Regions from separate parts of the Homo sapiens genome. Here all the other regions are linked to region 2. The links are contacts of gene promoters, found by promoter capture Hi-C in blood cells and fetal thymus (Javierre and others, 2016). All regions are on one chromosome and are shown on one strand. Each heading gives the region's core, a stretch centred on a gene start or on the middle of the fragment in contact. The rest is flanking DNA. Distances are from core to core; before and after follow the strand shown.

Region 1 (3,521 bases), core at 392-2,891, 450 kb after region 2:
ACAGGAGTAGGGTTCAGTAAGGTACATTTTAGAACAGTTAAAGAATTTTTAAAATTCCTCTTCCACTCTCACAGTTGAGCTTTGACTACCTGTATTAGCAAAATGGTATGCAAATTTAGTTGCTTTCTTGTTCAAAGACAGCAAGAATAAGAAATGCCTTTCAGTATGTGTTAGAGTGATACTTCCATTAACCCTTGTGTTTTAGCTCTTTCAAATGTCTCAGCATTATAGATAAGTGGTTGACAGAAGGAAGTCTTGCCAAATATGCAAATGAGAGAAACAATTACAATAAAAGGTTATTTTATATAAAAATGAATGTATTCTATTTCTTAAGGGAAATAAAAAGGAAGTTCAATTTAAAAAGATATTTTTATAAGAATTAATATGAATATATATTTTCAAAGTATTTAACATCTTTCCCCAGTTGCTTTTCATGAATCTCACCATTGCTTGGTACTGTACTTTTTGTTCCATTTAATTAATTTTTTTCTGTGTTGCTATTTCTCACTGGTTAATAATTGGCAAATTTATAAAAAAATTAAAATGACCTTAAAAAGATAAAAATTTATAAAAGAAGAACATTTATTTTAAAAGATGCAAAGCTGACTATTCTGTAGATTAAAAAACAGAGATTTTTCTCCCTCATGAAATGAAGGATATACTGAGCGTATTAGTCAGCATTCTCCAAGCAGACAAAACCAATAGGATATATCTATTAATGTATTTGTCTGTCTCTATCTCTCATCTCTCTTTATGTCTATCTATAGATAAATATGTTAGGGAAAATTTATTAGGGGAATTGGCTCATGTGATTATGGAGGCTGAGAAGTTCCAAGACAGCCCTCTGCAAGTTGGATGCTGGAAGCATGGCTCAGTCCAAGTTTGAAGGTCTAAGAACCTGTGGGGGCCACTGATATAAGTCCTAAAGTCCAAAGGCTGAAGAGCCTGGGTTTCTGATGTACGAGGGCTGGAGAAGAAGAGTGTATCCTGGCTCAAGAAGAGAGAGGGATCAATTTGCCTTTCCTCTGTTTTCATTCTGTCAGGGCTCCCAGTTATTTGGATCATGTCTGCCTATATTGAGGGTGGATCTTCTCCACGTAGTCCACTCACATTCACATGCCAATCTCCTCCAGAAGCAACCTCACAGACACACTCCTTAAAATAATACCAGTTATCTAGCTATTTCTTAATTCAGTCAAGTTAATACCTGAAATTAATCATCACACTGAGATTTCTACAGAAGATTCCAAAAGCACCCAGGAAAATAATTCATTATTTTTAAATTTAAAAAATACACAAAGTGAGATTTAATACCCAGAAAAATGGCTGACACAATAACATAAATACAGATTCCCCTCTTTTTAAGAATTTAAGGATGCTAGAACTGACAGACTATATTTAGAACATTTTAGATATTGAAAGAATAAGGAAAGCAGCTGGTAAAGTTTAAAGAATATAGTTGGAACTACACTTTTCAAGCTTTTAGATGGCTCACTTGGTTTTTATTTATGAAAAATTATATATTATTTAAAACTTTGTACTCTACTTGAGGACAAACAAAATAGTCAATTCTTGTTATTCATGGTAAAGTTCTGTAAACATCGAGTTAGCAAATACAAAACTATTACTCCCGGGAAATACAGGATTAGGTTCCTGAAAGCCTCTGGTCACATTTTCATCAGTTGATCAATACATAACATTGTTGTATGTTCATTTCTGTTTAAAAACACCCCATTTAATATACATTGCTAGTTCATTAACATTGAACTCAGTGGCTGACAGTACTATAACTCATGTCTGAATGAAGCTTCGCTAACATACCTGTCTTCTCTGTGAGGCACATCACAACCTCCTTGCACTTAGAAACACTAGACAACACTTCAGTACTATGCTTGGGGACCATATTAAACAAGGAGATTACAAAAAAAAAAAAAAAAAGCACAAAAATCGGCACTAAATAGACCACTAAAAAGACACATTTATAGTATGACAGCTGAAAAAGAAGACAGAGATTCACCTTGTTCAACTTCAGCTGGAAATGTGTGACTCAAATTTTCACTGATCTGTGCATTCCCACAAATGACAATGAAAGTGCTTGGGGATTCCAAATTAATTTTAGGGAGTAGGCTAATTTGAAAATATGGAATCATGAATAAAATGAGATTGTATCTTGTTCACCTTTGTGTCACTACTGTCACTACTGATTGTAATATTTTCTGTCATGTGGTAGTAGTTCAATATATATGCATATATATATTGAATAAATGGAAATAGTGTTCCTTAATTTTTAAATGAACCCCATTGTATAGTCCTATTTTGTTTTACGCTCTTGAGAAGTTTGTGATAGTCTGTAAATATTCAGTTAGTTTTCAAATACAAACATTTTATAATAATATAAATGCTTGTTTTGTTAGGCTTACATTTCCCTTTGGAACTTTGAAGATATTGCTCCCTTACCTTTGGCATTTAAAATTAATACAAATTCTGATGCCACTATAAATCTCAGTCTTTTGTGGTATTAATGCCCCTCCCCTCCCTACTTTGGAAGCTTTTAGGATATTTTCTTTTGCTTGAAATTCTGAAAATTTATAATAGGTATTTATACTCCTTATAATATGTACATTAGACTCTGGAATGTTCATATCTTTTATCAATTTGGGGAAATTTTCTTCTTTTATTTCTTTGGTTGTTTCTTCTCCATTCTTTGTTATTATTTCTGAAAAATCCTATTAAATATGTTCTAAACTTCTGAATCCAGTTGAAGTATTTCCTGAAGTTTTGAAAATACATTCCTCTTTGTCCTTTTATACAGTGTTCTGGGAGTGTAAGTTGACTTACATTTCCAACTAACATATTTATTTTCAGCCATATTTATTACACTATTCAGTCCATCATTTGAAAAATTATATACATCTTAATTTTGAATTAAGTTTTATAAATGGCATGAAGGGTACACCTTCATTCTTTTGTGTGTGGATATCTAGTTGTCCCAGCACCATTTGTTGAAATGACTATTCTTTTCCCATTCAATAGTCTTGGCACCCTTGTCAAAAATCAGTTGATCATAAATGTAAGGGTTTATTTCTGGACTCTTAATTCTATTTCGTTGATCTGTATGTCTTTCCTTACATCAGTACTACACTGTCTTGGTTACTGTCGTTTTGTTTGAAGTTTTGATATCAGGAACATTTCCAACTTAGTTCTTTTTTAAGATTGATTTGACTTTTCTAGGTTCCTTACATGTTCATATAGATTTCAGAATCAGCTTATCAATTTCTGCAAAAAAAAAAAAAGGCAGCTAGGACATTTTTTTTGAGATGGAGTCTCAGTCTGTCATCCAGGCTGGAGTGCAGTGGTGTGATCTTGGCTCCTTGCAATCTTCACCTCCTGGGTTCAAGCAATTCTCCTGCTTCAGCCTCCTGAGTAGGTGGGATTACAGGTGGATGCCACCACACCCAGCTAATTTTTGTATTTTTAGTAGAGACAGGGTTTCGCTATGTTGAACAGGCTGATCTCAAGTT
Region 2 (3,729 bases), core at 213-2,712:
ATCCTAGCACTTTGGAAGACCGAGGCGGGCGGATTGTCTGAGCTCAGGAGTTCGAGACCAGCCTGGGCAACAAGGTGAAACCCCGGCGCTACTAAAATACAGAAAAACTAGCCGAGCGGCGGGCGCCTGTAGTCCCAGCTACTCGGAAGGCTGAGGCAGGAGAATTGCTTGAACCCAGGAGGCGGAGGTTTCAGTGAGCCGAGATCGCGCCACTGCATTCCAGCCTGGGCGACAGAGCGAGACTCCGTCACCAAAAAAAAAGAGAGAGATAAGCAAATGTTAAAAGCAGGTTACTACAAGATTAGCAGCCTAGTGCCGGGCGCGGTGGCTCACGCCTGTAATCTCAGCACTTTGGGAGGCCGAGTCGGGCGGATCACGAGGTTAGGAGATCGAGACCATCCTGGCTAACACGGTGAAACCCCATCTCTACCAAATATACAAAAAATTAGCTGGGCGTGGTGGCGGGCGCCTGTAGTCCCAGCTACTCGGGATGCTGAGGCAGGAGAATGGCGTGAACCCGGGAGGCGGAGCTTGCAGTGAGCCAAGATCGCGCCACTGCACTCCAGCCTGGGCGACAAAGCGAGACTCTGTCTCAAAAAAAAAAAATTAGCAGCCTGGCGCCTTGGCTCATTACTGTATTCCCAACACTTTGGGAGGCCGCGGCGGTAGAATCACTTGAGCTCAGTAAAACACCTGACTCAACTAAAAAAAAAAAAAAAAAAAAAAAAAAAAGCCCGTCGCGACTGCACGCACCTGTGGTCCTAGCTACTTGGGTGGCTGAAGTAGGGGGATTGTTTGAGCCCGGGAGGTCGAGCCCTGATCATGACACTGCACTCCGGCCAGGGCGACAGAACGAGACCCTGAGAAAAAAGAAAAGAAAGAAAAAAAAAGATTAGCATAGTGACTTTCTCTTTGATGTAACCATAAATATTTAAAGACATCAGTGCCGGGCACATTGGGAACCTCAACAAAGTTGTTTCCGTTATCCATCTCCGACCAGAATTCAGGAAGAACTTTGCCTGTCTTGTTCCCGCTATAACCAATGACTCAACAAATGTTTGTGGAGTGAGTGGGTGACCCTCTCCTTTTACCAACGGTAAACAGCCCGCGGAAAGAAAAAGTGACTTAGCCAAAGTCTCTCCAGGCATTTGGGGCAGAGTCGGGACTAGCATAGTAGTATCCTGACTCTCGCAGGAGGGCTCGCTCCACTGTAGTTATTAATTCTCCTCTCCACACAACCAGGTCTAATCCGGCCAAAGTCTTCAATTCTTAAGCTAAGAAAAAAGGAAAATACATGTAAACTCTGTTTTGCGATAGACAAGAAAACAGAAGAATTAAAAATCCTCCTTCCGGGGTGCACCAGAATCCTCCCATCGCTCGGTCCTGTCACGTGACCACGCCTACTACACCAGCCACGTGAGCTTCTGAGCCGGCTTCCGCGCAGGCGCAGTGGATCTCTCTTGCGCCATTCCAAACATGGCGGCTCCACTAGGGGGTATGTTTTCTGGGCAGCCACCCGGTCCCCCTCAGGCCCCGCCGGGCCTTCCGGGCCAAGCTTCGCTTCTTCAGGCAGCTCCAGGCGCTCCTAGACCTTCCAGCAGTACTTTGGTGGACGAGTTGGAGTCATCTTTCGAGGTAATATAAGACATGGGCGTCTTTGTCCCTAGCCTTCCCTTTTTTCTGAAACGTGAACTGCGCGTACGCGTATCTCCTCCAGGGATCCGAGCAACTAATTCACAAATGGGGAAACTGAGGCTTAAAGTAAGTCACTTGCTTTAGGCTTCCCCGTGGCCCGTATTCAATTCAGGTCTGCTGGCGGGGGCGCGTAAACTCGACGTTTGTGGAAACGTGAACCCGAAGTTTGCCTAAACCCCAAACTTGGAACCCTTCCAGATTCCCAGCCGGTCCTTAGTCTCATCCCCGAGCACCGTTTCTTGCATCCCTGCATGTTTAGTAAGAGGCTCAAGCCTTTTCGGAGCTGAGAGTTTCACTGCTGTATCCTGTATCCTTTCCGCTGGGCTTCACCTTTAAACGATCCTAAAGGGACTCTTAAGAGCGGAAATTGACTTAAGTTACCAGGCGCAGCTTGGTACTAAGAGCTGAGGAAGGAGGAATGCTGGAGGTTAGGGAGGGAGGGAGGCACAGGTGACCCAATCTCTCAGTTTTGCCCAAGGAGTTTACCTTGTAGCAAGAAAGGTGAACTGTATATTGAGGGAAGATAGAGAGGTGAAAATAAGTGCTCTGGTGATTTCCAGTAGTCTTTAAAGTGGAAGATGAGCTATTCCTGTGTAGTAATAAAGTAATGTACGTTCAAATTGGAGTTAACTTTTCCACATTTTAAATCCCAGTTTTGCCGGGCGCGGTGGCTCACGCCTGTAATCCCAGCACTTTGGGAGGCCGAGGCTGGCGGATCATGAGGTCAGGAGTTCGAGACCAGCCTGACCAACATGGTGAAACCCTGACTCTACTAAAAATACAAAAATTAGCCAGGCGTGGTGGCGTGCGCCTGTAATCCCAGGTACTCGAGAGGCTGAGGCAGGAGAATCGCTTGAACCTGGGATGCGGAGGTTGCAGTGAGCGGAGACCGCGCCATTGCACTCCAGCGTGGGTGACAAGAGCTCGACTCCGTCTCAAAAAAGTAAAATAAAATATAAATAAATAAAAATCCCAACTTTGTGACTTTTGTATTGTATCTAATAGCACAGTGGTAAATGAATATAATTTGCAAGCGATTATTCAGACTGCATGGACAAAATGCTTTTACCACACGGATGTACAAAGATTTAGAAATAAATGATTTGAGATGGAGTCTCACTCTCTCGCCCAGGCTGGAGTACAGTGGCGCAATTTCGGCTTACTGCAACCTCCGCCTCCCGGGTTCAAGCGATTTTCCTGCCTCAGCCTCCCGAGTTGCTGGGATTACAGGCACCTGCCACCATGCTATTTTTTTTATTTTTTAGTAGAGACAGGGCTTCACTATCTTGGCCAGGCTGGTCTCGAACTCCTGACCTCGTGATCCACCCGCCTCGGCCTCCCAAAGTGCTGGGATTACAGGCGTGAGCCACTGCGCCTAGCCAGAAATAAATGATTTAAAGGACAGACCGTTTAGGAGGAGGAGGAGGAGACACCTTTGAGGTGGTGCTAAGTGGTAAAGGAAGGGGCTGGTGAACTTTAGAGCAGCATCTAGCATTGTGCTTGAGGGGAGCTGGCTCTCAGTCATGGGCACTTGCTGAAAGACTGGCCCTGTACAAGTCTTAGCCAAAGTTGACTCCCAGCACCCTGCTGCTTAAAAACGTACAGTGGCTGCTTGTTGCCCTTGAGATAAGATCAAGATGTTTAGTGTGGTCTCCCAGGCTTTGCATGTTGCGTTCTCTCCTTCAGACTCGTTTCCTTACTGCAGCCACACAAGACTTTCCCACGTGTACCATTTGTTTTCTCTTTGGGCTTCCAGGCCGCTCCTCAGCTCACTGCATCACTTCCTCAGTGGACCCTTCCCTGGCCTTCTTTTTAATACTTACCATTAAATTCGGCTCCATGAAGTCAGAGACTACCTGTTTTGTACCCCCACCCCTCACATTGTGTAACCTGTAGTGCTAATACAGTGGTAGTAGATAGCAAGTGCTAGATGAATATTTGTCAGACATTGAAGGAATCTGTAGTGTGGAGCCTGTAGTGTAGTTGGCTTGTGCACAGAACTCCTTGCCTGATTCACATATATGTCTGTAGGTG
Region 3 (3,605 bases), core at 77-2,576, 390 kb after region 2:
GTAACTTTATATCCAGACTAAAACTTAACACTGCAAGTCTGTGCCATGGAAAAGCCTTGCCCACTAACTCCATGTTCTCATCATCAGTTGTAAAAGCAAGAAAAAAATTAGTGGATATTTTCTCTGATTAATCCATCACAGGGGAATCCTTATCTCTGACACTGTGCATTCAAATACAGAAGTCCCGGTTCTCTCTCACTCCAGGACAGGAATAAAAGGCTGAGGAGGCCTAAACCCAGAATACTTTTTCCCACCCCTGAAACTCAAGTTCTAAAATAAAATGAAAACAGCACTACTAAAGTTTTAGATGTAACAATCTGACCAGAAAGGATGAGACTTGCTAATTTTTAAATGAGGTTTGACCTGGTATAGTGGTTAAGACTGGATGTGAATTCTACTTTTGAATTTGCTAGGCAGAAAGACTTGGGCAAGTCACTTAGCCTCTCTAAGCCTGAATTTTCTCATTTGTAAAATGAAGATAAAAATTGTACTATTTCATATGGAAAATTATATGTGATAATACATATAAAAACTTAGAATCTGCCTAACACACGGTAAGCACTCAATAAATATTATCTATCATTATTTCAAGGGGCAATTCTTGGTGCTGGAAAATCTGTAAGACAACATGTATATTACTAACTATGGTAGTTAGGGCTGAAAGTGATTAATTCACAAGAACATACGTAGACTAATGACACTGTTTTTAAATACTTTTATGTTTTAACAATCTTTAACTTAAAAGTTTTAAGTATAGTAAGGAAGACCTTTATCTTCCCAACCATTTGAGAGTAAATGTCTACATAATGACCCACCACTCTTGAATTCCTAGTATTTCCCAATTCTCTCACAAAAACAACCATTAAAATCAGGAAATTAACGGTAATACACTATGCTCACTGCTACCGTACTGCCACTGCTCCTAAGCCCCTTCTCAATGACCAGTATAGGGCATGTGTATGTATACATACACATACATTTCTATATCTATATATGATGAAAACCATGAGTTCGCACAAGTACTTCATTTCCTATCCAACACTACAGACAGCATTCTAATTTTCCCTACTTTCATATTAGTAAATCCCTTCTCAGACAATGAGAAGCCTGGCTCCCATTATTCTTAATACTGATCAATCTTCATGTACGTAACCAATCTCCCACTGTAGCTGTCTCTTTCCCTACACGGACACCCTCCTCACCTCTCTTGGCCCCAAAATCCCTACCCCATGTATATAATCTCCTTACCCTGTTCAGGTCCCTATTCCTCATGCCTGGCATCCCTCCTACAAGAATATCCTCCCTACCCTGCTCAGGCTATGAAATCCCATATTGTACCGAGCTCCACTGAGAGGCCTTCCTCCCTTTACCCTCAGGCTCTAATACCTTGGACTCAGATACCTCTATGTATGGACTCCCTCCTCATCTCACTTGAGCCTTAATATACCTACACCAGGCTGCAATCCTACATGGGTCACTCCCTACCCCCTGGTATCTACTGGGGCCCTGAGAGCTCATGCAGGATGACATCCCACCCCAAGTAGATGTCCTCCTTGCTGGGACCAGCTGACCTTCCCCCATACCAGGCCACTCTCCTTCACAGATACCATATCACCCTGCTTGGGCTCCAATACCCTGCCTTAGCATGCCTTCCAATGGAGAGGTGCTCCTTACCCTTCATTCCATCAACCCCCATGGACACCCTCCTCACCCTATAAGGTTCTGAGATCCCACTCCTCTTACATGACGATGTGGCTCTGCCTCCCACGCACCCCACCCAGTGTGGATACCTACCCTTGTTTTCTCCCACTTGATGTTTTAGTACTGAGCTGTTCAGAAAGGGAGGAGGAAGAAGACATTGAAGAACAATTAATTATATTTTAAAAAAAGAGACACCAGTGAATAAACTGTGTAAGCACCTATAATCAGAGCTAATTAAAACAACAATCTATTTGTCAGAGTACCTGCTTTTTTTCCATGTAAACAGTGCTCTATTCTTTTACACTAATTCCTTCTAAGTTTAAAAAGTTAATTGAAAATTATAATACAGAAGAGAGCACTGGGTTTCCTTCTAACCAAACATGCATTTTACTTAAGTATCTTACATAGGCCTGTGGAAAATCTAGTTAATTTAAAAAGAAGAAAAAACCCTACTAATTTTATTTTGAGAGTTTAAAAAATACAGTTGTTCCAAACACTAAAATATACATAAATGTGTGTATGGGTACATATATATATGTGTGTGTGTCTGTGTGTGTGTGTGTATATATATATGTATGTATGTATATATGTATGTATGTGTGTATATATATATATTTGAGATGGAGTCTTGCTCTGTTGCCCAGGCTGGAGTGCAGTGGCATGATCTCGGCTCACTGCAACCTCCGCCTCCCGGGTTCAAGCGATTCTCCTGCCTCAGCCTCCTGAGCAGCTGAGATTACAGGCACCTGCCACCACGCCTGGCTAATTTTTGTATTTTTAGTACAGACAGGGTTTCTGTACATGTTGGCCAGGCTGGTCTTGAGCTCCTGACCTCATATGATCTGCCTGTCTCAGCTTCCCAAAGCGCTGGGATTACAAACGTGAGCCACCGGGCCCGGCCATAACATATTTTTTAAAATATCCAGAACAAGTAAATTTGACTTGTTTTCAGAATATTAACAGTTGTATTGTTTCCAGTATACTTACCCCCAGATACAACCCTGCAAAAATTAACAGCCATGATTGTTACAATACCTTTCCCTTGCTCCTGGTTTCTATGAGGAAGGATGCATCAAAAGCACAACCTGAGCCTCTTTTTACCCTTAGCTAGTAAAGTGAATTATCCGATTGGTGATTCTGGATTTGAGGAAGAGCTCAGTTCTATTCCTCTTGCCCCTGGGGTTGAGCTTTCAAAGGAGAACAAACCTCCAAAGACTCATATTCAGCTCTGCTTCTCTACTGAGCCTAGGACTGGATGGATAAGTCAGCCTATGCCAGACCACCTGACTCCCCCATCAAGCTATTCCTCTAACCTGGCCTGTATCGGTAATAGAAAGATTATTTTGGCTTCCATCTTTCTCCTTGTTTTATTTCTCAAGTTGTTCAGAGCCCAAGCAGAATGTCTTAATACATTCAAGTGAATGAAGACTGCTCATTTTCCCAGTTTTGATTTAAAAGGGCTGCTTTAATTTGAGCTTCTTAAAACTATTGCAAACAAAAAGCCCTCAAACCTGCACCAACAACAGATGTTCCAAATGAAAATAAGCTGACTTATCTGATCATGCTTATTACCCATTTTAAAAAAAAAAAAAAAACAACTTCAAAGGCTTACAATTTCCTCCTTGTAGAAGCTATAATTTATACTTCCAGTCCTACTTTCTGCTGCTAACCTATAAACCAATGGCACTGTAATGCTAAATATTTTCAGAATATATCATTATTTATACTTAAATATATTTGCTTATACTATCTCTGCCCATTCCCTCCACTCTACTTTCCTGCTGTATCCTTTATCCCAGAGATCAGCAAACTATGGTTTATAGGCCAAATCCACCTATTTTTATAAATAAATGTTACTGAAACGCAGCCATGCTTATTAATTTATGTCTTTCTTTTGGACTACA

What was found. The method cuts DNA at HindIII sites, captures the fragments that hold promoters and counts their contacts. A CHiCAGO score of 5 or more calls a contact.
Region 1: a fragment that was not itself captured here is called in contact with the fragment with the promoter of MED28 in region 2 in 1 of 17 cell types (total B cells); the score reaches 5.7 in total B cells.
Region 3: a contact is called between a fragment that was not itself captured here and the fragment with the promoter of MED28 in region 2, in 2 of 17 cell types (fetal thymus and neutrophils). The highest score is 5.4, in fetal thymus.

The regions. Positions count from the first base shown.
Region 1 is chr4:18,058,179-18,061,699 of GRCh38, forward strand. No RefSeq gene overlaps it. Among named protein-coding and RNA genes, the nearest start is that of LCORL, 38 kb to the left of the region's middle. The HindIII fragment of the contact is 328 bases long and covers 1,478-1,805 here.
Region 2 is chr4:17,613,179-17,616,907 of GRCh38, forward strand. MED28 (mediator complex subunit 28) reads left to right here and starts at 1,463. Exons shown (of 4, transcript NM_025205.5): 1 at 1,463-1,635. The coding sequence starts at 1,477. MED28-DT (MED28 divergent transcript) reads right to left here and starts at 1,402. Exons shown (of 3, transcript NR_186331.1): 1 at 964-1,402; 2 at 754-860. RefSeq lists enhancers at 808-2,007, 1,113-1,402, 1,503-1,612. The HindIII fragment of the contact is 7,436 bases long and covers 1-1,553 here.
Region 3 is chr4:18,008,150-18,011,754 of GRCh38, forward strand. The region is part of intron 1 of LCORL (ligand dependent nuclear receptor corepressor like); the gene reads right to left. Among named protein-coding and RNA genes, the nearest start is that of LCORL, 12 kb to the right of the region's middle. The HindIII fragment of the contact is 5,084 bases long and covers 1-3,605 here.